Linked DNA regions of Homo sapiens: regions 2, 3, 4 and 5 are each linked to region 1. Evidence: promoter capture Hi-C in 16 types of primary human blood cells and fetal thymus (Javierre and others, 2016). All regions are on one chromosome and are shown on one strand. The core of a region is centred on a gene start or on the middle of the fragment in contact, and the rest is flanking DNA. Distances in the headings are between cores, read along the strand shown.

What was found. Contacts are between HindIII fragments. The CHiCAGO score rates a contact against its expected background, and 5 or more counts as called.
Region 2: a contact is called between a fragment that was not itself captured here and the fragment with the promoter of GTPBP4 in region 1, in 3 of 17 cell types (fetal thymus, total B cells and naive B cells). The highest score is 9.1, in fetal thymus.
Region 3: a fragment that was not itself captured here is called in contact with the fragment with the promoter of GTPBP4 in region 1 in 2 of 17 cell types (fetal thymus and naive CD4 T cells); the score reaches 7.9 in fetal thymus.
Region 4: a fragment that was not itself captured here is called in contact with the fragment with the promoter of GTPBP4 in region 1 in 2 of 17 cell types (naive CD8 T cells and total B cells); the score reaches 5.4 in naive CD8 T cells.
Region 5: a contact is called between a fragment that was not itself captured here and the fragment with the promoter of GTPBP4 in region 1, in 1 of 17 cell types (fetal thymus). The highest score is 5.4, in fetal thymus.

The regions. Positions count from the first base shown.
Region 1 is chr10:985,897-991,183 of GRCh38, reverse strand. GTPBP4 (GTP binding protein 4) reads right to left here and starts at 2,750. Exons shown (of 17, transcript NM_012341.3): 1 at 2,657-2,750. The coding sequence starts at 2,704. It also overlaps a transcript of LARP4B not described here. RefSeq lists an enhancer at 108-1,003. The HindIII fragment of the contact is 2,419 bases long and covers 1,562-3,980 here.
Region 2 is chr10:124,504-129,790 of GRCh38, reverse strand. No RefSeq gene overlaps it. Among named protein-coding and RNA genes, the nearest start is that of ZMYND11, 8.3 kb to the left of the region's middle. The HindIII fragment of the contact is 2,934 bases long and covers 1,663-4,596 here.
Region 3 is chr10:146,147-151,433 of GRCh38, reverse strand. The region is part of intron 1 of ZMYND11 (zinc finger MYND-type containing 11); the gene reads right to left. It also overlaps the pseudogene DDX20P1. Among named protein-coding and RNA genes, the nearest start is that of ZMYND11, 13 kb to the right of the region's middle. The HindIII fragment of the contact is 2,511 bases long and covers 1,453-3,963 here.
Region 4 is chr10:330,340-335,626 of GRCh38, reverse strand. The region is part of intron 29 of DIP2C (disco interacting protein 2 homolog C); the gene reads left to right. It overlaps LOC124902362 (a long non-coding RNA gene), which reads left to right. Exons shown (of 2, transcript XR_007062030.1): 2 at 1-602. Among named protein-coding and RNA genes, the nearest start is that of ZMYND11, 200 kb to the right of the region's middle. The HindIII fragment of the contact is 3,787 bases long and covers 445-4,231 here.
Region 5 is chr10:373,231-378,517 of GRCh38, reverse strand. All of the region lies in intron 17 of DIP2C (disco interacting protein 2 homolog C), which reads left to right. Among named protein-coding and RNA genes, the nearest start is that of ZMYND11, 240 kb to the right of the region's middle. RefSeq lists an enhancer at 5,176-5,287. The HindIII fragment of the contact is 1,463 bases long and covers 1,711-3,173 here.

The DNA of each region.
Region 1 (5,287 bases), core at 1,501-4,000:
GGCACAACACAGTCTGCCAAGTATTGTACTATGAGGGGCACGCCCAGTCTCCCCTCTGGGCCTACAAGTGAGACAAGTAAATGGGTGGTCACAACAGTCTGCCAAGTACTATAAGGGGCACACACTGTCTCCCCTCTGGGCCTACAAGTGAGACAAGTAAACGGGTGGTCACAACAGTCTGCCAAGTACTATGAGGGGCACACACGGTCTCCCCTCTGGGCCCACACAAGATCTTCTCTACGTTCTTCTGCACCTAATGCCGTTCGCACATCCTGAAGGGGGACCAAGTCAAAGGTTACCTACTTCATAAGGTTCCCCCTGACTCTCCAACTTACCACAGCTAACCACACTCTTCTCCTCTCCCAATCCATGTGTGTCCTCCATGATAACAATGTTTTATTTCTAGTATGGTCATACGAGATATGACTTACCCCACTTTTTTTTTTTTTTTTTTTTGAGATGGAGTCTTGCTCTGTTGCCCAGGCTGGAGTGCAGTGGCGCGATCTCGGTTCACTGCAAGCTCTGCCTCCTGGGTTCAGTTCACACCATTCTCCTGCCTCAGCCTCCCCAGCAGCTGGGACTACAGGCGCCCGCCACCACGCCTGGCTAATTTTTCTGTATTTTTAGTAGAGACGGGGTTTCACCGTGTTAGCCAGGATGGTCTCGATCTCCTGACCTCGTGATTTGCCCGCCTCAGCCTCCCAAAGTGCTGGGATTACAGGCGAGAGCCACCGCACCCGGCCTCGACTTACCTCTCTTGAAAATGACTTCCAAAGAGGCAGGTATTTTATCTAATGCATTTTTGTAACACAGTACCCGATGCACAGGACAGGCACTCACTCAACATCTTCTAGAATGAACTGAATACCACACTTTCCCGATGTGATTTTTTTTTTTTACTTCCAATCACCAAACAATTACCATCACCCAGTTTTTAGATAAGTCATCTGTTCTCTAAAAATATAAATCTCACTCCACAGAACAGAAGACGGATGGTGTATAATATATTCTAAAGTTCTCCACATAAGTCAATAACATGAACAAAGTTCATATAATCCAAAGAGCAAATTCCTTCAACAAACCTGAGAGATGGTTGACCAAAAATACAAATAAGACATGACTCCTGCACTCGAAAATACTACAATCTGGCTGGGCACAGTAGCTCATGCCTGTAATCCTAACACTTTGGGAGGCTGAGGCAAGTGAATCACTTGAGATTAGGAGTTCAAGACCAGTCTGGCCAACATGGTGAAACTCCACTTCTACTGAAAATACAAAAATTAGCCAGGCCTGGTGGCGCATGCCTGTAGTCCCAGCTACTCGGGAGGCTGAGGCAGGAAAATCACTTGAACCTGGGAGGCGGTGGCTGCAGTCAGGATCACACCACTGCGCTCCAACCTGGCCAACAGAGCGAGACTCCATCTCAAAAAGAAAGAAAGAAAATACTACAATCGATCAAGAGATGTGCCAGAACAACTGTCAGGAAGAAATAAGAAATGGTGGAGAGAAGTGGGGAAACAACTTTTGCTATGAAGGTAAAATACGAGACTCCCACAAAGCTTTCCAAGGCAAGCTCATCCCGTCCTTGAGACCTGAAGAAAAGGAGGCACTGACGAGGGGAAAACAGTCACTCTGCAGGGACTTCAGTAACTCCCTCTCGTGCAGGAGTCCCTGGGAGGCTCCAGTTGCCCGTCAATGTCTGTGTAATTGCGACCCAAATCGAATGTTCACTACATAAAAACGTGACTTCTTAAAAGTCCTAATACTAGGGCCGGGCGCAGTGGCTCACGCCTGTAATTCCAGCACTTTGGGAGGCCGGGGCGGGAGGATCACCCGGGATCAGGAGTTCGAGGCCAGCTTGGCCAACGTGGTGAAACCCCGTCTCTACTAAAAATACGAAAATTAGCTGGGTGTGGTGGTGCACGACTGTAATCCCTGTTACTCGGGAGGCTGAAGCAGGAGAATCGCTTGAACGCGGGAGGTGGAGGTTGCAGTGAGCCGAGACTGCGCTCCAGCCTGGGAAACAAGAGCGAAAAACTATGTCTCAAAAAAAAAAAAAAAAAAAAAAAGTCCTAATACTCAACACTTGTTGACTCATTCTTGCCACACCAACCAACGCTGTAAAAATTTAGTCTGGGCCTACTATGGTCTGAAAAGGAACAGGTATTCCCAAATCTAACAGTGAAAGAGAATGACTTAAAAATTATGAAACGTTAAATCACGAGAACAACGAACCCAGGATTCCTGAGAGGGGAGGGGGCTACGCCAAACCCAGAATCCGAAGGCTCATCACGGACCACGGAACGCTTCCTCCCTCACATGTCGGGGTCCCCCTCCACTCGCCCACATCGTCACCCGGGGCCCCTCCAGGGAACCCAACTCTGGGTGTACCCCCATCTCTGGGGGCCCTCAGTCTTTGGGTGGACCACGGTCTTAGGTGGACCCCGGTCTCTGGGGGATCCGATCTCTGGTGGACCCCGGATTCTGCTGGGGGAGGGGAAATGATCCCGAGTACGCGGCCAGACGGTCAGGCCCAGGAGCGGGGGATGGGCGAGCGGAAGGCGACCGCTCTCCCACGGCTACAGGCCCGGACCCTCCCCGGGGACCCAGCTGAGGAGAACGCGAAAGTTGCAGTGGCCCTCCCGGGGCCGCCTACCTTGGCGGACGGCACCACCGTAATTTTCTTGAAGTTGTAATGTGCCATGCCGGCAGCCGTATGCACGCGGGTACTTGGCACTCCCGGAACTTCCGCCGTCGGGCGCAGGTGGGACTTCCACTGTCGGGCGGTTGAGGTACGTCACTTCCGGGAGCTCAGCCAATCGTGTTCTGCGTGCTCTACGGCGCTTTCCGCGTCGCACAGCGCACCCGCCCGGCTTGGAGGTCAGCCACGGAGGGCGTGTGAGGGCCTCAGGAGCGAGGGTACAGAGGAGAGGACGCCCGGGTTTTAGGGGGAGCGCGGAGACTAAATTCCTGCTGAGTAAAGCGGGGGTTTCCGACAGACTGCCCTGCGGGTTTCTGGAGCGGGTTCAGGCCCCCAGCCACGCGCCCTGGGCCAGGGTTGGAGGGTCCGGGGTCTTGGGATTTGGGAGTTGCGGGGCTTAGGAGTCCAGAGGGTCTAGGGGATCCGGGAGTCTGGGGGTCCTGGGTCGCGGCGAGCCCCGCAAAGGAGGAGGAAGCCGCGCGTGCGGGGCGTGCCCAGCCTCTGGGTGTGGAGCAGATGACGCCCCTACCCCGGCCTCGCGCGTGGGACTTGATCCCGGGCCGTGGTGAGGAGGCCCTCGCGGCTTCCCTGCAGCCCTGCTTTCTCGTGCTTGTTAAATCCCAAAACGGGCGGAGAAGGGAAAGCCTGATCTAAGGCAAAAGAGGTGCAGCTGGTTCCGCGCAGTGCCTTAGGAGAGCCCAGGGAACAGTTGCGAGAGACAGTCCTGTGGGGTCCAACTGAGGAGAAGGTTGATGAGGATGGAGCCTTTACTGCTTTTATGTTTGTGAATAGAGTGGCCGCTCCCTTTGGGAACCCAGGGCCACATCCCTTAAATTAAACGTTAGGTAGGGCTGACTCAGTCAAGCAGTGTTCAGAGCTGCTGACTATATATTAACTCGTTTAATTTCTGCAACAGCCTCATGAAGTGCATGGGGAAACAAAGGCACACAAGGCTCGAAAGCACCCCGTGGTTGTGCAGCTGACAAGCTAACAGGCAGCAGAGGTGGGCTTTGAACCCAGGCAGCCTGGCTCCAGCAAACCTGCTTCTAACCATTAGCTATACTGCTTCTCACGCATCTGGGATGCCCCCCACTCTCCAATCCTTTTAAACAAGTCCTATTATTCTTACGCGAAAATACCTCTCATAAATTCCCAGCATTCCAATATTGAAAATCATTCTGGGTCATGCTTTTCTCATCTATTAACTATGCTTCCATTTTTGTGTCACAAGGCGGATAAGCATACCTCCTACATCTTTGTGGCACTTCTAAAGGAAGCTTCTAGGGTAATTAGGATTTGCTGGCTATGATCATTTGCTAAACCACAGGACAGTTCTGGCCACCATTTCCGAGATTAGCAAAGCTATGCTCATACTTATTGCCCTTTCTTTTAGGTTCTTGTATGTTTCCTCAACCTCTCCCACTTTCTCTCACTCTGATATAGCCAGTTCCTCTTTTTCTTGTAATCCGGTATTTAGATAAGTCCAGTCAATACTTTGCTTCAGATGGGCAAACATCCTTTCTTTAATTTTTTTTTTTTTTTTGAGACGGAATCTCACTCTGTCGCGCAGGCTGGAGCGCAGTGGCGCCATCTCAGCTCACTGCAACCTCCGCCTCCAGGGTTCAAGCCATTCTCCTGCCTCAGCCTCCCAAGTAGCTGGGATTACAGGCACCTGCCACCACTCCCGGCTAATATTTTGTATTTTTAGTAGAGACAGGGTTTTACCATATTAGCCAGGCTGGTCTCAAACCCTGACCTCAAGTGATCCACCCACCTTGGCCTCCCAAAGTGCAGAGATTACAGGCATGAGCCACCTGCTTTTAACTTGTTCAGCTACAAAGGCATGTCTGTGAATGCACAACCATAATGACTCATCATGGGCCCAGAGCTATAACAATGATAAGGTACCAAGCATCTTACACCATGTGCGTGTTGATGAGAATCAACATCCTTGCCTGTTCTTGTGATTTTGTGGCAGAGTATAGCTTCTTGGGGGCAAGTATGTATTCTACACCACTAGGAGCAAGCTTCTTTATCATACACTTCTGGGCTTCTCTGGGGAAGCCAAACTCTAAAGGCCTTTTCTGAGGAGTGTCGCAAATGCTGCCTGCAGTACGAGGCACATTGCCAGTTCCTGACTGCATTAGCAGGTTCCAGCTGCCAGGACGCCTCTGAGTGTGTACCTTGTGACAGAAAGGTACTTCTCAGCTGTAGTAAAGGATGCTCTCAAGGGTACTCTGCAAAGCTTCTGACTGCGAGGCACTTCTCAGTAAAAAGCTTTGTTTTTCAGACCTTTTTATTTTGTGGGTTTGGTCTTTTCTGTTTTACCTTCTCGTTGCTGTAATTCTGATGGATGAAAGGTACATTTTGCAGAACTGAACTTCCTGCCTGAAAGGAGCCTTTACATGGGGATTAGCCATCAGTAGGCATCCGGTCTTAGAGGGTCCTATGAGTGCTCCATTGGGCCCGTCGGCCACTTCCCTGGATCCCCACAGGAACTCATTCAGAACGAGTCACATGCTGCTTTGTACCTAGATGCTTCCTTGTGTACATCTTGTTTCCAAAAGAAGTAGCCAGCTCTTCGTG
Region 2 (5,287 bases), core at 1,880-4,379, 860 kb after region 1:
GAAAACTTCTTCCCCTGGGATGGAAGCCAGGACTCTTTAAGAGACTTATTCTTGGATTCACAATATACAGAGGCATGGGGATAATTGCTGTCATATCTTGAGAAGTTATTCTCTTCTTCATTTAAACATTTCAAGTACCAGAAAATGCACACTTACATGTTTATATACTTCCTCCAACCTCTTGTCAGGGATACCTTTCCAACATGTTTTCACTTTTTAGGAAGGACAAAATTTAGTCATAGGCTCCACTCTCAGCTTATGGAGAGTTTCATGCAGTGAACTTACATTAAAACAAAAAGAGGCACCTGCACTTGGCCATCATTACTAAGGTCTATACACACATGTCAGTGATCATATCTGAACACAGAGCTGTGAACATGCCTCTTCCATGTTACATTTTACAGAAATTCCCTTCTCATTGCCACCTATTTGTGGCAATGGCAAATGAGAATCTGTGCGGGAATTTTTTTACTTTCTTTTCTGAGACGGAGTCTGGCTCTGCTGCCAGGCTGGAGTGCAGTGGTGCAATCTCAGCTCGCTGCAACCTCCACCTCCCGGGTTCAAGCGATTCTGCTGCCTGGGCCTCCCGAGCAGCTGGGACTACAGGAGCGCGCCACCACACCCAGCTAATTTTTGTGTTTTTAGTAGAGACGGGGTTTCACGATGTTGACCAGGTTGGTCGCTATCTCTTGACCTCGTGATCTGCCCGCCTCGGCCTCCCAAAGTGCTGGGATTACAGGCGTGAGCCACTGCGCCCGGCCTTTTAGTTTCTTTAAAACCCAGTACTGTGGTATATAGCATTTAAGATTTTCATTCTCTTCCTTCAGCTTTCTCACAGTTGTGATTACTCATGTTCCCATGCAAATTAATGTTTAAGAAATCATCACAGTATTTACCACTGATGCCTTTGGAATTTTCTGTTGTTCTGAAGGATTCTCCCGTTTGTTAATTTTCATAAAAGCTTTCTTTGGGTTTGGTTAATTGGCATAAAATTAAAACTGATGTTATCTTTATGTATGTTTTAAGTTTTTAATACAAACAAAGCTCAGAGAAATTGTAAAAAGGCTGATGGGATAGGAACATTTAAATAAATAAACATTTATAAACACATAAATAAATAGTTCATAGGAAACTGTCTTCTAGAAGTAGTAAAGTATAAAACGTCCATTTGTATTCTTCTATTATTTGAAGAAAACTATGTCTTAATAAATTGTCCAGTGATAAATCCCTTAAAGACCTAGAGAAAAATATAGTAAACACATTAGATCTCGCAGGGGAAATGGTAGAAAGTAAATATCTAGGAGAACAATAAAATGAAATGTAAATAATTACAGTGCCAAATTATACTTTCTACAAAATAATTATATTTCAAAAATATTTCCTACATTATTTGGCCATTGTCTCTGCACTTACAGTTTGATTGGTTTCTTTTGCTTATGTGCAGTATTGAGATAAAGTCAAAGAAAAGTTGGAGGCCAGTCATGGTGGTTCGCATCTGTGGTCCCAGCTACTGTGGAGGCTGAGGCAGGAGGATTGCTCAAGCATAGGAGTTTGAGGCTGCAGTGAGCCATGATTGTGCCAATGCACTCCAGCCTGGGCAACAGAGCAAGACCCAGTCTCAAAAAACAAACCAAAAAAAAAAAAGGAGAAGAAAGAAAAGCTTCAGAGGGCACAACTTCCTTTTTTCTTTTAATGTAACTGCACTGAGAATTTCAAGCACAGGAAGTTCTACATCCTCAACTACCATGCGTAGAAAGCAAAACATAGAAAGCGACGCGTTTCTTTCCGCATCGTCACCTTCCTCCTTCCATCAGTCAGTCCGCAGTCCCGCTTCTCCAGTGAAGCCTGGTGTTAATTTTCCACACACAGTGTTATTCAGGGGCTGATTATCCTCTCTTATTTGTATTCATTTGTTTTTTTATACCTATTTTGAAAATTCATACAGAATATAGGCAAAGAAGCTAAAAGAAAAAGTGAAACTCAGCACATTTTTAATTTTTTATTAGTAATTGCATTTTTAAAAAAGGACAGTTACTGGAAGAGAAGGTAATTGAATATAGATTACAACAAGATTTAGGGACAATTATAGAATTTCTTGTATATTTACTAATAAATGAATGCTAATTATCTTTTATGTAAATGGCATTTTATGCCAGCAAGATGTTTTATATGTACATATGCACACACACACACGCGCGATAGAGCGATGGCTAAATAAATTGTGATTTATTCCTATGATAGGATTTATGTAACTATTAAAGAAGTTGTTTATAAAAGTCTTTCTTATTGTTAAGTGCAAAACTAGGATTAGGATAGACGTTAAAGAAAAGGATCATATAGTGTAAAAATAAACATGTATATTAGTAGAAAGAGACCACAAAGTGTTATGAAAAAATACTAACTATATTAATCTCTGGCAAATAAAAGTATTTGTGTTTTAGTTTTTCTTTTTTTTATTTTTATTTTCTTGTGTCGTATTCATATTTCAATTATTAAAAAATGTTGTTCTAGAAATTGTGAACCAAAAGTATCTGAGACAGGTCTCAATCAATTTAGAAAGTTTATTTTGCCAAGGTTGAGGACATGCCCATGGCACTGCCTCAGGAGGTCCTGATGACATGTGCCCAAGGTGTTCAGGACACAGCTTGGTTTTATACGTTTTAGGGAGACATGAGACATCAGTCAACCCGTGTGAGATGTACATTGCTTGGGTCTGGAAAGGCAGGACAACTCAGTTAGGGGCTTCCAGGTCATAGATAAGAGACAAACGGTTGTATTATTTCGAGTGTTTGATCAGCCTTTCGCTGAGATACACAATTTACACGTGAGATGGGGGTAGACAGATAGTCACTTATGCCTTAGTCTGGCTCAGCGACTGCATTTTTACATAAATGATAAGGCAGAGGAAGCAATCAGATATGCATTTGTCTCAGGTGAGCAGGATGACTTTGAGTTCTGTCCTTTGTCCCACACCTGTGAAAATAAGCTATCAATTTACCTTGCCAGGGTAAAAATTCAACAGAATGGTTTTAGGGTAAAGATCGTGAGCCCCCGCCCCTCCCCCCCCCCCAACGGAATTTCCTTGTGAGCAAAATTGTGAGTAAGGTATGTAGCTTTTTTATCTTTGTGGCTATCTTATTTGGGAATAAAATGGAAAGCAGGTTTGTCTGACCCAGTTCCCCAGCTTGACTTTCCCCTTTGGCTTAGTGATTTTGGGTCCTGATATTTATTTTCCTTCCACAAAGTGAAATGTTGGATTTTAGCAGACTTGCTGTGCAACTTTAAGTGGTATTTGTTTAGCAAGCAACTAAACCAAAAGTACCATGCAATGCAGGTAATAGAACATTTTATTTATTTATTTATTTATTTATTTTGAGACAGAGTCTCACTCTGTTGCCCAGGCTGGAGTGCAGAGGCATGATCTCAGCTCACTGCAAACTCTGCCTCCCGGGTTCAAGCAATTTCCATGCCTCAGCCCCCCGAGTAGCTGGGACTACAAGCGTGCACCACCACACCTGGCTAATTTTTGTATTTTTAGTAGAGACGGGGTTTCACCATGTTGACCAAGGTGGTTTGGAACTCCTGACCTCAAGTGATCCACCCACCTTGGCCTCATAAAGTGCTGAGATTACACTCAGGTGTGCTGGGCCACTGTACCTGGCCCAGAAAATTTATTTTTAATTAAATATTATATTCCTATGAATACATTTATTCTGTTAAATGAAGAACAACTCTACTGTTCATAGTAATATCAAATTGAAGCCATTTTTATAGGTCAAAGAAAGTGGATACTGGCATTTTCATATGGTTCAACCTCATAGCATTGGTTTTCACATTCTCTGATTGGGATTTTAGAAAAATAAAATCAAAAGTGAAGCCAGACATAAGTGTGTTCAGTACGAAAATGGTAATCCAATAGACTAAGTGGGAGTGCAAGTACAAGAAATGCTCATGATAGCATTTCATGTAGGTTTTCCCTCTAATTCAATCAACTTCTAGAAGTCAGTTGTAGTAGTCCACTCTCACACTGCTATGAAGAACTACCTGAGACTGGGGAATCTATGAAGAAAAGAGGTCCAATTGACCACAGTTCAGCAGGCTTAACTGGAAGCATGGCTGGGAGGCCTCAGGAAACTTACAATCCTGGCAGAAGGACAAAGGGGAAGCACCTTCTTCTCATGGCGGCAGGAGAGAGAGAGCCAAGGGGGAAGTGCCATACACTTTTAAACCATCAAATCTCATGAGAACTCACTATCACAAGAACAGCAAGGGGGAAATCCACCCCCATGATCCAAATATCTCCCACTAGGTCCCTCCCTTGACACGTGGGGATTAAAACTTGATATGAGATTTGGGTGGGGAAACGGCGCCAAACCATATCATCAGTTCCATATTTTACATTAAGAGTTACAGTGATGTTGAACTCATATTCCTTGTGGAGGTTAAAAACTCTTTATATGATGGTGAGAAGTTTTAGTTAGAAAATTTAGTTCTTCTATAAATTTATCTTTGATTATTAGATCCCTTGCACAATAAGGACCTGTATTCATTAAACTAAAATAAAATATTCTGAGAACTGTATGGTGTGACTAAGCTTTTACCGTCCCAGCTCACTTAATCCTTACCAACTGATAACTCTAGTGCCCACATTTTACTCATGAGGAAACTGAGAATTGGAAAGATAAAATATCTTGCCTAGGCTTCCAGCTGACAAGTGACCTATCCCAGGCTTGAGTCCAAGATTATCTACTGACAGATCTGAAGTCTGGACTTTTAATTACTATTCCTATTCAAGTCTGTCATTTCAGATGTATTACCCAATTAGGATCACATTGTTTAAAGTCTATACTTGTAATGCCACACACAGAAAACCTCCTTGCTTTGTATTAAAAATTTATATTTTGTCCATCAGAGCAATCGATTTAAAAAATTTTAAAAAGAAGCACGCACTAAACCAAGGGTTTTAGATATGTGAAAAATTCTAAAACAAGCAACAAATAAATCCAAAATATTATATTTAGATGAGTCACTCAAAGTGAAAAAAAGATCTTTCCTTTGGCCACCTAGTGTTTAAGAGTGTAGAATTCACAGCTAGGCCCATCATGGTTATTATGTCTATTAATTATTCCAAGAGATCCAATTACTCAGATTCTTTTATGGCAAGACTTGGTAGATGAGGACAGATAAAGAGAAGGAATTCAAAAGTATGGTCAGGTGTGAGACTTACAACTACTATATTCTTTTAATTATATATATATATATATATATATATATATATATATATATA
Region 3 (5,287 bases), core at 1,459-3,958, 840 kb after region 1:
CTACTGAAGCTTGTGCATTCGTCACGTAGTTCTCATGCGATGGTTTTCAGCTCCATCAGGTCATTTAAAGACTTCTCTACACTGGTTATTCTAGTTAGCCATCCGTCTAATCTTTTTTCAAGGTTTTTAGCTTCTTTGCGATGGGTTCGAACTTCCTCCTTTAGCTTGGAGAAGTTTGATCGTCTGAAGCCTTCTTCTCTCAACTCGTGAAAGTCATTCCCATCCAGCTTTGTTCTGTCGCTGGTGAGGACTGCGTTCCTTTGGAGGGGGAGAGGTGCTCTGATTTTTAGAATTTTGAGCTTTTCTGCTCTGTTTTTTCCCCATCTTTGAGGTTTTATGTACCTTTGGTCTTTGATGATGGTGACGTACAGATGGGGTTTTGGTGTGGATGTCCTTTCTGTTTGTTAGTTTTCCTTCTAACGGTCAGGACCCTCAGCTGCAGGTCTGTTGGAGTTTGCTGGAGGTCCACTCCAGACCCTGTTTGCCTGGGTATCAGCAGCAGAGGCTGCAGAACAGCAAATGTTGCTGCCTGATCGTTCCTCTAGAAGCTTTGTCTTAGAGGGGTACCCAGCCATGTGAGGTGTCAGTCTGCCCCTGCTGGGGGGTGCCTCCCAGTTTGGCTACTTGGGAGTTAGGGACCCACTTGAGGAGGCAGTCTGTCCGTTCTCAGATCTCAAACTCCGTGCTGGGAGAACCACTACTCTCTTCAAAGCTGTCAGACAGGGACATTTAAGTGTGCAGACGTTTCTGTTGCCTTTTGTTCGGCTATGCCCTGCCCCCAGAGGTGGTCTACAGAGGCAGGCAGGCCTCCTTGAGCTGCAGTGGGCTCCACCCAGTTCGAGCCTCCAGGCCACTTTGTTTACCTACTCAAGCCTCAGCAATGGCCATCAATAAAATTGATAGGCCGCTAGCAAGACTAATAAAGAAGAAAAAAGAGAAGAATCAAATAGACGCAATTAAAAATGATAAAGGGGATATCACCACTGATCCCACAGAAATACAAACTACCATCAGAGAATACTATAAACACTTCTACGCAAATAAACTAGAAAATCTAGAAGAAATGGATAAATTCCTGGACACATACACCCGCCCAAGACTAAACCAGGAAGAAGCTGAATCCCTGAATAGACCAATAACAGGCTCTGAAATTGAGGCAATAATTAATAGCTTACCAACCAAAAAAAGTCCAGGACCAGACGGATTCACAGCCAAATTCTACCAGAAGTACAAGGAGGAGCTGGTACCACTCCTTCTGAAACTATTCCAATCAATACAAAAAGAGGGAATCCTCCCTAACTCATTTTATGAGGCCAGCATCATCCTGATACCAACGCCTGGCAGAGACACAACAAAAAAAGAGAATTTTAGACCAATATCCCTGATGAACATTGATGCAAAAATCCTCAATAAAATACTGGCAAACCGAATCCAGCAGCACATCGAAAAGCTTATCCACCATGATCAAGTGGGCTTCATCCCTGGGATGCAAGGTTGGTTCAACATACACAAATCAATAAACGTAATCCAGCATATAAACAGAACCAAAGACAAAAACCACTCTATCTGAGGAGCAGGGTTCCATTAAAAAGGAAGAGAAAGAAGTGTTGAAATAATGTACTTCATTAGACTCTGTTTCAGCCTTTCTTCTCCACTCCCACAACAGAATAATTGCCCTTCTCCTAAGTGATACAATGTCTATTTAAAGTGTGAGACTGGATAAAGTATAAAATTAGTGCCCATTTATACTAAAACATACCCACAATTTAATATGCAAATATTATTAACAGTACATGTATTAAGTATTTACTATTGTGTTGTTCTTTCAAAAGCAAACTACATTTAAAAAATAATAATACATTTTGGGAGGCTGAGGTGGGTGGATCACGAGGTCAGGAGATCGAGACCATCCTGGCTAACCCGGTGAAACCCCGTCTCTACTAAAAATACAAAAAATTAGCCAGGCATGGTGGTAGGCGCCTGTAGTCTCAGCTACTTGGGAGGCTGATGCAGGAGAATGGCGTGAACCCAGGAGGCGGAGCTTGCAGTGAGCCAAGATCGCGCCACTGCACTCCAGCCTGGGCGACAGAGCGAGACTGGTCTGAAAAATAATAATAATAATAATAATAATAATAATAATAATAATAACAACCACCTCAGTGTTCTGCCTCACAGCAATTCCCAGGCCACAGTGCAGGGATGGAGATCCAAAGGGAGTGTGTGGTCTCACTGAGCTGAGGAGAATGAGATCAGAGACTGGAGTGGGCAAGTTTCGGTTCAGCCTTTCTTTTTAGAAAATTCGTATTTTTCAAAGTCAATTACTTGCCATGAGTCAGACATCGGATCCTCTTCCCTCCCTATTATTTACAATGTTTAGGGTAACCATCTAACATTTCCTACTCTATTCTTCAAGTTCAAATTTCATAAAACTATTCTCTTTAAAATGCAATTCTAACTCAGCAGCAATTAATATAATTCTTGAATGTATCTGGTAATTTAAAACTGACAAAATTATGTATATTTAAGAAAATTTGACTTAGCACACTTTAAAAACACAGACGTTGTATGTTATCACCTAAGGTCTAACCCGGAAGACAGTAAGGACACTGACAGCAGTGGAAAATCAATGGTGGATGAGGCTGTGCTGTCCCGTGAGAAGAGCAAACGAAGAGCCCTGATGGGGCCCTGGTGAGCACCCTGTCAACAGTCAGCACCAAGCCCAGGGAGGCTTACCTGGTCACTCCCTAAAATTCCACCTGCCATGCATCTTGGCCTTTGTGGAATCAGTGAAGAATTATGAACACTATGTTAAAGAGAAAATAAACCTGTGGAAATTATCAGGCACTGCCTAGGTACTGGGATACCTGTGAAGCCTCAAAACACTAGTGTGAGTAATAAAATTACTAAGGAGTGAATGCAAATATTGGACGGTAGGGGTTGGAGCCACAGTGAGTCTTACACCTCAAGGACTTCTTCCCTGAGCAAAGGAAGTTAGGACTTCTTCCCAGAGCAAAGGAAGTTAAGACTTCTTCCCAGAGCAAAGGAAGTTAGGACTTCTTCCCAGAGCAAAGGAAGTTAGGACTTCTTCCCAGAGCAAAGGAAGTTAGGACTTCTTCCCAGAGCAAAGGAAGTTAGGACTTCTTCCCAGAGCAAAGGAAGTTAGGACTTCTTCCCAGAGCAAAGGAAGTTAGGACTTCTTCCCAGAGCAAAGGAAGTTAGGACACTCAGTTTAAAGACTCTAATCTACTCCTGTAGACTGCCAAACCTGTAGAACCACCTGTACATGGAAATATTACCCCCAGCCTGGAGGAATACCAATAATCACCTGAAATCCAGATAAACACCAGGGATAAAGAGGAGGCTAGCCAGAGACCTAGGCAGAGCCTGAAAAACTTTCTCAGGTGGTCTCACTATTGACTGAAGACATAACCCCAGGACGGTTGATCTGACTGCCCCAGGGAAAGACATTCAAGTTTTTCTGATGCCTATCAGGATTAGGAGACATCCTGGAGAGCTGACTACAGGACAGGCAGAACACTTTTGTATTGCTGCTTTTCAAATTACCAGAATGCCCAGACATTCAAACTGGATGGCAACCCATATCCTGACTATAACGTATCTCAAGATCTGATGTGCATTTACCTGTGATTATAGTTATATCTGTGACCATCAGGGAATATCAACCAATGATACCTTCGATATCCATCTTCCCTGGCAATACAGTAGCGTGTTTGAGGAATCCAAAAAGATTTAACGCTTTCATCTAGGATGCATTTACTTTTCAGGTTATTTTAATTATCCTCTTTTTAAGGGAACTTCATGGATCTGATTCTTGAAAGAGAATTTCTGAGGCTTGGAACTAAAAATCCTAGGGTATGACATTTCATATAAGCTATTCCAAAAAAAAAAATTTAAAAAGGCACATATACCTCTGCCCACTTCAAAAAATAAAAATTTGAAGCTTGAAAAGCTAAAATAAAACTGTTTACTTTTAAAAAGTAGAGCTCAATAGGAGGAACATACCTCAAAATATGAAAAGCCATCTATGACAAACCCAGAGCCAACATACTGAATGGGGAAAAGTTGAAAGCATTCCCCCTAAGAACTGGAACAAGACAAGGATACCTACTTTCAACACTTCTATTCAACACAGTACTGGAAGTCCTAGTCAGAGTAATCTGACAAGAAAAAGAAATAAAGGGCATCCAAATTGGAAAAGAGAAAGTCAAACTATCTGTTTGCCAATGATATGCTCATATACCTAGAAAACCCTAAAGACTCTTCCAGAAGAATCCTAGATTTGATAAATGAATTCAGTAAAGTCTCATGCTACAGAATCAATGTACACAAATTGGTAGTGCTGCTATATACCAACAACGACCAAGCTGAGTGTATTAGTCCATTCTCACACTGCTAAGAAAGACATACTCGAGACTGGGTAATTTATAAAGAAAGAGAGGTTTAATGAACTCACAGTTCCACATGGCTGGGGAGACCTCACAATCATGGCAGAAGCCAAAGGAGGAGCAAAGGCATGTCTTACATGCTGGCAGGCAGGAGAACCTGTGCAGGTGAACTGCCCTTTATAAAACCATCAGATCTTGTGAGACTTATTCACTATGATGAGAACAGCATGGGGAAAACCCACCACCATGATTCAATTATCTCCCACTGGGTCCCTCCCACAACATGTGGGGATTATGGGAGCTACAATTCAAGATGAGATTTTCGGAGGGGACATGGCCAAACCATATCACTAAGAAATCAAATCAAGAACTCAATCCCTTTTATGATAGCTGCAAAAACAAAACAACACAACAACAAAACCCTAGGAGTATATGAACAGAGGAGGTGAAAGATTGCTACAAGGAGAACCACAAAACACTACTGAAAGAAATCACAGATGATACAAACAAATGGAAATACATCCCATGTTCATGGATTGGAAAAATCGATATTGTGAAAACAACCATGCTGCCCAAAACACTCTATAGATTCAATGCAATTCCTATCAAAATACGAACATCGCTTCAATAGAAATAGAGAAAAATCCTAAAATTCTTATGGAATCAAAAAATGGCTCAAATAGCCAAAGCAATCCTATGCAAAAGAACTAATCTGGAGGCATCACATTACCTGACTTTATACTACAAGGCTATAGTAAGCAAAACAGCATGGTACTGATATAAAAGTAGACACACAGAATGGAAAAGAATAGAGAACCTAGAAATAAGGCCAAATACTTACAACCAACTGATCCTTGACAAAGCATACAGAAACAAAATTG
Region 4 (5,287 bases), core at 1,089-3,588, 660 kb after region 1:
GAAGCACCAGCCCCCAAGTTAGGGGACTGATTGGACAATGCACCTGCCTAGAATCTTCCCAAAGCCTGGTGTCGTGAGAGTCACGGAAACATCCAGAAACTCGCTCTGGGCAGCGGGAAGCTGAGAGCCGACCACTTTCTTGCAGTGTGCCTGTGCAAACTGGGTAATTGGGGATGGCTAGAGAAACTTGAACAGGGTCTGAGCTGGGACAGGAGGAATGCGTTGGTTTTCTGATTTTGATGGCTTAGGTGTTTATGGAGGAAAATAGACTTGTTTGTTGGAAATCCCCCCTGAAGTGTCTGGGATTACGCATCAGGTCAGTGATTCACCATTAGATAATCCAAGGAGAGAGAATTATTTTAAACGTACTTGTACATTTTCTATAACTTTGTGATTGTTTGAAAGTTAAGTAACACAAATAATTTGTGTCCTCATCCTAAAGCTTTCTTCTGTCATAGAGGATTGTTTATCTGAGACATATGAGTATAATGGTATTGTTTCAAAATATTTTTTAAGATTACACCTGTTTTTAAAAATTGTGTCAGATAGCCTGTATTCATGTATTGGAAGATTCAATATTATTAAAATGGTAGTTCTCCCCACATTGCTTTATAGGTTCAATGTAATTCCTACCAAAATCTTGGCAGGCTATTTTTTGGGGGTTTTTTGGGGCAGAAATTGATAATATCCTGAAGTAAATATAAAGGACCCACAATAGTGAAAGCAGTTTTAAAATAGGTTAACAAAATTGGAGAATTCAGAACTTCTCATTCCTGATTTCAAAAATATTGCAAAGCTGCAATAACCAGAACAATGTACTGGCATTGAGATAGAGTGATTATATATATGAGAAACAGAATTGAGAGTCCAGAAATAAACCCTTATATTTATGGTCAAATAATTTTTTAATAGAGTTACCCGAGCAATTCAATGAAGAAAAGTTTTTCCAACAACAGATGCTGGGAAATTCGGACATTCACATGAAAAGGAAAAAAGATTAAACCTTGACTCAACGTCATATACCTAAGTTAGTTCAAGTGGATCATAGATCTTAATGTAAGAGCAAAAATTATAAAAATTTTAGAAAACACAGGAGTAAATTTTCATAATCTTGGTTAGGCACAGAGTTCATCAAAGGTATACTACATAAATACTGATAAACTGGACTGGAACAAAATTTAAAACTTTTGTATATCAAAAGACAGAATTAAGTAGAAAGACAAGCCACAGTCTGGGAAAAAATATTTGCAAATTATAAATCTCATGAAGCACTTCTAAGCACCTATGTAATAAATTTTTTCTTTTTTTTTTTTTTTTTTTTTGAGACAGTCTTGCTCTGTCACCCGGGCTGGAGTGCAGTAGCTTGATCTCAGCTTACTGCCACCTCTGCCTCCAAGGTTCAAGTGATTCTCCTGCCTCAGCCTCCCAAGTAGCTGGAAGTACAGGCATGCACCACCACACCTGGCTATTTTTTTTGTATTTTTAGTAGAGACAGTGTTTTGCCATGTTGGCCAGGCTGGTCTTGAACTCCTTACCTCAAGTAATCTGCCCGCTTCAGCCTCCCAAAGTGCTGGGATTACAGGCGTGAGCCACTGCACCCAGCCTATGTAATAAACACTCAAAACTCAGAAACAAGCAACATAAACACGGGCAAGAGATCTGAATAGATATCTCACCAGAAGAAGACATACAAATGGCCAATAAGGACGTGAAAAGATACCTAGCGTTAATTAGGGAAATGCAAATTAAAACCACAGTGAGATACCACTTCACACCCACTAGAATGCTGTCACCGAAAACACAGGAAATAAAGTTGGAGAGCTCGTGTTTTCTGACTTCAAAACTTACACTGCAAAGCAACAGTAACCAAGAAGGTGGAAAAACGAATTCTCATACATTGATAGTGGGAATGTAAAATGGGGAAGCCACTGTTTGGCATGATCTTAATTAAGCAGACTTGCTGCATTGACTCAGCAGCTGCACTCCTAGGAGAAAGGAAAGCGAACATCCACTCAGAGACTTGGTGTAAGTTCCCTGGAACCTCGGTCAACACAAGGAAACAATCCAGGTATCCGCTAGCAGGTGACTGAACAGGTGACGCCTGCCACGTCCACATGGTGGGTGCTTCTGCACAGGATGAGCTCAGAAGCACCTGCTGAGGGAGGGAAGTGTGGCTGTGTGGTAGGCAGTGTCCAGAAAAGGCAAATTTGTAAACAAAGTAGAATGATGACTGGGGCTAGGGCTGGAAATGGGACTGACTGCAGATGGACACGGGATCCCTTTCAGGTGATGGGAATGTTCTAGAGTAGTGACCATTTTACAACTCTTCAATTTTATTAAAAGCCATTCTGTGCTTAAAATGAGTGAAACTTAGGGTATGCAAAGTATACCTAAATAAAGCCGACGGGTGTTTTAAAAAGAATAGGCCGGGTGCGGTGGCTCATGCAGGTAATCCCAGCACTTTGGGAGGCTGAGGTGGGTGGATCACTTGAGGTCAGGAGTTTGAGACCAGCCTGGCCAACATGATGAAACCTCGTCTCTGCTAAAAATACAAAAATTAGCCTGGCGTGGTGGCACACGCCTGTCATCCCAGCTACTCAGGAGCATGAGGCAGGAGAATCACTTGAACCCAGGAGGCAGAGGTTGCATTGAGCCAAGAATGCACCACTGCACTCCAACCTGGGCGACGGAGTGAGACTCTGTCTCAACAATAAAAAATAATAAAGTGCTTCATTGCAGTAACTCAAGTGTGTAGGGAGACCCTGGGCTGGATGGCATGCCTGCTGGCAGACAGGGTATGACCCAGGACCCCCAGGTGAGATGAACCTGTCTTGTTGAATTCCCAAGTTAGGAGAGTTTTCAGTTGTTGGTATATTTTGTCAGGTTAGTAATCTGAAATCATCAAATTGCTAATGTGCGAATGTGTATTACTTACCAAAATGTCTATTTTTATTCTTTTTGAAGTTAAGATCTGAAGAACAGCTCAGGTTCCCAACATTCTCAGAGAATAATGTCTTGAGAATAAGCAACCTGCTCTTAAGTAGGTTTGTCTTGTCCATAGCAGAATTTATTGCCAGTGCCAAAAATCAATTTTGGCTAATACAGCAATTAATCAAAATTTGCTGTATTGAGTGAGGTAAGGGCAATTAGGAAATCATGAGTTGGGTTTTCTATTTGTTTCTGCTGTCAAGATTTGTGTTTTCTTAATGTTGATTTCTTATTTATGGTGATGAGGAGGGAGGTGAAACTATATTTAGTTTTCACAAGTATATTTGAAATTCTCTGGCCAGGAATTCACACTGGGTTCCCAAGCCCGTTGTGTGCTGACAATTCTGACAGAGCAAATCATTAATGCTGATGTGTATTTTTGAGGAAGCCACTTCCAGGGACACTTAGAAATGGTTAAAATGACTTTGGGTGTCCGAGGCAGGAGGATTGCTTGAACCTAGGCGTTCAAGACCAGCTTGGGCAACATAGTGAGACCCCATCTCCACAAAAAAAGTTTTAAGTTAGCCAGTCATGGTGGTATGTGCCTCTAGTCTCTAGTCCCAGTCATGGTGGTACGTGCCTCTAGTCCCAGATACTTGGGAAGTGGGAGGATCACTTGAGCCCATGAGGTCAGGGCTACAGTGAGCTGTGATCACACCACTGCACTCTAGCCTGGGTGACAAAGTAAGACTCTGTCTCAGAAAAAAAGAAAAGAAGTGGTTAATATGGTAAATGTTATGTTACATATGTTTTACCACAGTAAAATTTTTAAAACTAAGATGAAATGGCCAGTTTACAGCAGAGTAAAAATTCGAGGCCTGATATTCACCCCTTATGTGCCTAACCCTGTTCTCAAAGTATTAAACCCTTGGAAAGGTCACTATTTGCTAGAAAGTCGTCCCTCGGTGTCCACGGAGGAGATAGGTTCCGGGACCACTGCAGAAAGCAAAGAGCGAGGATGCTCAAGTCCCTGATATAAAATGGCATCATACGAGCACATCACCTATGCACTTCCTCTCTCATGTTTTAAATAATTTCTGGATTACTTGTAATACCTAACACAATGTAAATGCTGTGTGAATAGTTGTACTATGTTGTTTAGTCACTAATGATAAGAAAATCTACAAGTTAGGTATAGATGCAGATTTTTTCATGAATATCTTTGATTCATGGTTGAAGCCAGGGGTGAGGAACCCACAGACACAGAGGGCTATGTGTCCTTTTGAAAAGAATAAATCAAGCTTTGGAATAAGAATGAGGAAAGAAATGGAAAATTGCCCAAAAACGCCTTTGTCACATTTGCCGAAGAGTAGTTTTTCATACTAAGGGTCCCGTTTGAAATAAATTTTGTTAGCCAACCTAACTTCCTTACATTTCTTTAGTTGGATTCTCTTATAAACAATTATGAAAATTTTTAGATGAGATTGGCTACATTAAAGAACTGGCTTTAGTATTATAGCATAGTAGTTAACAAGGCCTAACTCGTTAATCATAGTGCTGTTTCACTGATAAAATTTTGCGTAGGCCTCTTATGGCAGCTCATGCCTATAATCCTAGCACTTTGGGAGGCTAAGATAGGAGGAGTACTTGAAGCCAGGAGTTTGAGACCAGCCTGGGCAACAATACGAAACCGTATCTACAAAAAAAAAAAAAAAAAAAATTAGCCAGGCATAGTGTTGTGCATCTGTAGTCCCAGCTACTCAGGGACTGAGGTGGGAGGATGGCCTCAGCTTGAAAGGCAGAGGTTATAATGAACCCAGATCACACCACTGCACTCCAGTCTGGGTGACAGAGTGAGACCCTGTCTCAAAAAAAAAAAAAAAAAATTGTGTAGGTTGGGCATGGTGGCTCATGCCTGTAATCCCAACACTTTGGGAGGCCAGGCACATCTTACATGGCCACAGCAGGAACAAGAGAGGATTGCTTGAGCCCCGAAGTTCAAGATGAGCCTAGGCAACATAGACCCTACCACTGAAAAAAAAAAAAAACAAGCATGGTGGTGCACACCTGTGGTCCTACTGACTCAGGAGAGGCAGGAGAATTGCTGGAGCCCAGGAGTTTGAGGTGACAGGTAGCTATGATTACACCACCCTACTCTAGCCTGGGCAACAGAACGTTCCCGTTAATTAAATTGTAAATCTTAGAACGTGATTTATCTAGGATATTTTATTTTAATGTATGGTATCTATTGTGAATTCATAGTAGTAAACAAAATTAAAACCATTAAAAATGTAGTTTTGACAAGTTGTTAAATCCACACTTACCCCATCAATTGATAAAATATGTAATCTATCACTTT
Region 5 (5,287 bases), core at 1,193-3,692, 610 kb after region 1:
TTCACGTGTCTTTATGCATGTCTGTGTTCACATGTATGCATGTCTTTGTCTAGGCATGTTTGTGTTCACGTGTCTTTATGCATGCCTGTTCATGCATGCATGCCTTCATGTCTGTCTTCACCTGTGTATGCCTGTTTTCGTGTTTGTGTTGATGTGTGTGCCTTCATGTGTGTCTGTTTTCACCTTCGTGTTCATGTGTGTCAGCCAAGTGGTGGCAGGAAATCACGTTCTCTAGTGAAGTCTGCTCAGTCTTGCTACGTGAACTGTATTTTCACCTAGGCATTTAAAGTATTTTTTTCTCTTTAAAACTGTCACTGTCCTGTTATATTTTGTGTTTTCTTTTCTCCCGATGTTAGTTTTAGAGTAGAAAAATATTGGGGAAATAGGGGCTTGTGGTGCCTAAACTCATCAGACATTTTTTAAAGGACAAATTGCAAGGCGAAAACCAGGAAACTGTTTCCTGGCTACAAGTATCCCCTAAATCTCCTGCCATCTGACTCTGTTACCATCTCTAGAATGTAGATGATAGACTTGATTTTCTTAAAGCTACGTTGTGAAATGTTTATTGAACTGAAAAACATAATTTTTAGCTTTGTAACTACAAAGTACTATTTGGATACCCTGATATTTTAGTAATGAAAATGCAAAAATCATATAAAACAATGAAACAATAATTCCAGAAAAGATAAAATACCCCCTTGTCACCACAACCATCTTCTAGTTTTTGAAAGTATCCAAGCTCGAAGTTAGCTGGGAGAAAAATCAAAGAAGACGTGTCCGCAGGGAGAAGGGTGCTGTCTGATGCCCACTGGGTGCTGATGGTGCCTGGATGAGTGACAGCGGAGAAAACGTCAGCACAGCCCTGAGCCAAAGTGGATCCGAAGTGAGCACTTCCCACTGCTCGGAAAAGTCAGACCCAGAGTTCCATAATCCCGCATGTAAGAGAACGCAAGATAAACTGTGTCATTTTATCTAAAAAGAGGGATAAAATTTTGCAATTCTCTAACTACAGAGTAGTTTCGAGATGAAAATCACGTGACCCAGACCATGAGAGTTAGGTAGCATCGAATAGCAAACCAAGTTTCCTGTTTAATTTCACCCAACCACGTGCGTTTTACAGTGTGTTCTGTTTTGTGGTGAATTAGATGATGAGAAGTTGGTTTTGGCAAAGGAGGTGCAGCGGGAAGATGGCAGAGGAGGGGCCTCCCCACGGGGTCCCCCCCAGTTCCAGCCCATAACCTCCCCTGGAAATAGAAAGGTGGCCAAGGCTTATGAGAAAGAGTTTGTAAAAAAGTTTATATAGTGTGATCCCGTTTTTGGTAACAAAAAATTAAGTATCTGTAAATAGTATATTCAGTGCAAAAAAAAAAAAAAAACTGCGCTGCACAGGGTGGGTGAGGCAGTAAAGATGGGCAGCTCACTTTCCGTGCTGTGCAGCTTGTAAAATGGGCTGTTTTTAGTGGGCATGCATTGCTCCTGTTAGAGAAAAGGAAGAATATTACATTAAATCAACTCATAACTTAATATATTGGCTGCTTTTACATTGTATCTTTTCCTATTAAAAATCGCAATCTCACTTATCTGTTGTGTTTTTGAAAGTCTGTGTCACGCTAAACATCGAAAAAGGTACATGCACATTTTTCACTGAATTTCCCCTCGCGGTGCGTGTTTCCTGAAAATATTATTTCTGCTGAAATGAGTTCACAAGCTTAACTGCTCCTGTCCTTTAAAGGGCATTTTTACCAGTACTGTGAATTTATTAGTTCATTCTGCTGCTGTGAAAAAGAGTGGCCCAGAGAGGAAAGAAAGCAGAGGAGATGTTCTGTGTTCTGTGTGCGTTGTGTGGCTGCCCCGGCACCTTCATCAGGGCTGATTTACGTCCATCTAAAAGAGAAACCTTTGGTGGTGAATGGTGATTCAAGACCAGAGTAGCTGCCCTGTTTAAAAAAAAAAAAAAAAAGACACTTCCTCGGGGTTCTGGCTGCCAGTTCAGAAGGGAAGACCCCCCCTCCCAACCCCACTCTCAAACAGGCTTCCTGGTAACTTCGCATTTTGTCTGGAACCGGAATGCGTGTTCCCAAAGAAGCAACGTTGTGCAGGTGCTTCGACGCCAGCACAGGGAACGTCGTGTGTGGGATGAGCACCACCTCATTCTTGCTCTGTGCCGGCTCCGTCGGGGGCCGAGGTGGGCCTGGGTCCTTCTCCCTGCCGGCTCCGTCGGGGGCCGAGGTGGGCCTGGGTCCTTCTCCCTGCCGGCTCTGTCGGGGGCCGAGGTCGGCCTGGGTCCCCATCTCGCTGCTCTCGCGCCTGCTTTGTCATGTGGGCAGGGCTTCACCTTGAGGATTCCTCGTCTGTAGATGAGAATCACAGCAGTTAGCTACGTCAGAGGCCCGTGTGAGCATTGAGTGGGTTCATACACACACAGAGCTTGAAAGCACGCCTGGTACATAGTAAGAATTCAACAAATGTTACCGCCGTTACATGACTGCAGGCGTGTTTTGTGTGTGGTCCGTTGCATAGAAATGCTGTGTAAAGATTGCTGGGGAGGAGGGGCCTGCAGCTTAACTCTTTCTTCTCTAAATGTGCCGTTGTTGCTAAGCTGAGGAATACTACATTGGAGATCGCCCGTATAAGATAAAAAAAATGAAAGACCTTGTTGACTCACTTGCTTAAGGGATTCAGCAAATGATGAGCGGCACTGAAGCTGTGCAGGTGCAGTGTGGCTCTCTGTTAAGCCCTAGAACTGGAGGCTGTGAGGCTTGTTCACTACTTGATGTGTTTGTTTTGTGTGAATGTCCCAAGCCTGGCCTGGCTCTGCTTGTGGTCAGGAGTAGCAAACTGCAGATGTGTTCATGAAATTTATAGGAGCTGCTACTTCAAGGTGTTATGCGGGCAAGGCTTATGGAATGCTTTCCAGAGGCTGGAAATGCTATGACAAGTCAGTGGTGCAAATGGTTCAATGGAAGCCATAGTGTACATTCCTCGTGAGGCCACATTGCAAGGTCTGGCCTGCTTCTTTCCTTTTTGTTGGTGTGTTTGCATTGTTATAAAGGAATGTGTGAGACTGGGTAATCTATAAGGAAAAGAGGTTTATTTTGGCTCACAGTTCTGTAGGCTGTAAGAGAAGCATGGCTCCAGCATCTACTCAGCTCCTGGTGAGGCCTCAGGAAGCTTATGATCATGGCAGAAGGCAAAGTGGGAGCCTGCATGTCACATGGTGAGAGATTGAGCGAGCAAGAGAGAGAGAGAGGAGGTGCCCAGCTCTATTCTAAACAACTAGATCCCACGTGAACTCATAAAGTGAGAACTCTCGTGTTACTGCGAGAACAGGCCCACCTGCATTGTTGGACGTCACATTTCAACGTGAGATCTGCAGGCAACAAAACATCCAGACTCTGTTGTCCTTTAGTTTTATTTTGTTTCCCTTTTGCACGTCATCGTGGTATTGTATACACAGGTACGTATTTTGCTCCTTCCATATCTCCAAGAGAGGACTCTGCCTCCTTACATTCCTGGAGATCACTGAGATGGTCCCTCCTGGAATCCATATTCTTCATGAGACACACAAAGCTGTTTGGTCTTGAACACCATTTCACATGGGAACTGAGTTTGGAAGTTGATGAATGGGCGGATACCTTTATTAGCCATTTTTTAATGTACTGATATTGATTATTAAGGTGGATGTTTTTTAAACCCCCTCGAATTCTGCCTATGGGGACTGTTTCTTCCCTTCCTCACCTCATCTACCTACTTGGGATTTTTACTTCTTAGCAAGGTGTTGATGGAGATAAATATCATCTAAGTTTCTCAATAATACAGGGAACACAAATTGGACCAACAAATGGTGTTTTACTGAACAAATTGGGAAGCATTTTAAGTGTTGGCAAGAGTGCAGAGATGGGCACTGCTGAGCAGCTTGGCGCTGTGGTCAGATGCACAGATTCTGAAGCCAGACTGAGATTGGCGCTGGCTCCACTCCACAGCAGTGGCTTTGGGTAGCACTCAGCCCTCCTCGCCCCTGCCCCTGTCTGCTAAACAGGGAGGGTCATGGTGCTGCACCCATCTCCACAGGGTTGCTGTGCAGAATAGGTCATTAAATATATAACCACAACACAATACAGCCAGTGTGAGGTGCTTTTCTAGTAGATGAGAAAATAATACTCCTGTTCTGTTAGTGGGAATGCAAAGTATGTTATTTTGGGAGGATATTTAGGTCTTCTTAAAAATTTAAGTATATGTGCTTTGTGATGCTCCATTTTCTTTCTAGGTATGTATATTACAGATACATTTCCAGCTGTATAAAAATTGAATGAAAGAAAATATATGATCTTATATTTGTATTACTAAACACTGTGTGTAACAAACCAGCTGAATTCAGTGGTGCACACACCTACACAGATGCACACCCACACACAGACACATGGAAAGATCTGCAGATATGTTTAGTGAAGAGAGTGAGTTTTAGAATGTTGGGGTGATCAGATCCAACACCAGGTTGTTGGGGTGACAAAGTATGGTGGAGTCAAAGGAATGAGAAAAGACAGTTTGAGAGAGAAATTGGATCCGGGGGGCTATTGCGAGTATGGAGGCTGCGAAGGCCCTGAGCTCTGGAAGCCCAGACTATTTATTGGTGATCAAACAAAGAAACAGGTGTTGAGAATGTGGGGCTTGAAAGGGCAAGCGCATGATCTTACAGCTGTGACGGTTTAGCATTTTCTTTGAAGCATGTGGAACATATTCTGCTTGAGATAATGGAGAGCAGGTTCTTTTAACTCAGGATACAATCGACCCTGGGAGAGCAAGGAGCCAGCAAGTCTAGACACATTCCAGAGCCACAAGCCCTGGATTCTATCCAAGCCACGAGGGATTTTATGCCCTGGGCTTAGTTTATGGTGTGTCAGGGCAGCCTTCCACCCTTTAGCACAGAGCTTGGTGTTCCAAAGACCACAAGGGGTTTTAGACCGTGGACCCCAGACATGTTCTGAGACTCTTACATTATGTCAGACCTGCAAGCCCTGCCGCAGCTTCTCCCAACACTCAGCTTTTCTGCCAACATAGAATAAGCATCATCTTGATTCTGCTTTTCTTTTAAAAATCAATGTATTGGTATACATACATATTTTATACTTAACTGCATATCTAGGAGTCTAAACTTTGACATTAAAAAATCTGTATGTGGTTATTTGTGGGGCATAGGATTGGAGCAGAAACAGGGACTTTGCCTTTTGACTGTGATGTTTGCCTTGTTCATACTAAGAATGTGCTGACGTTGGTTGTGCTGTTTGCT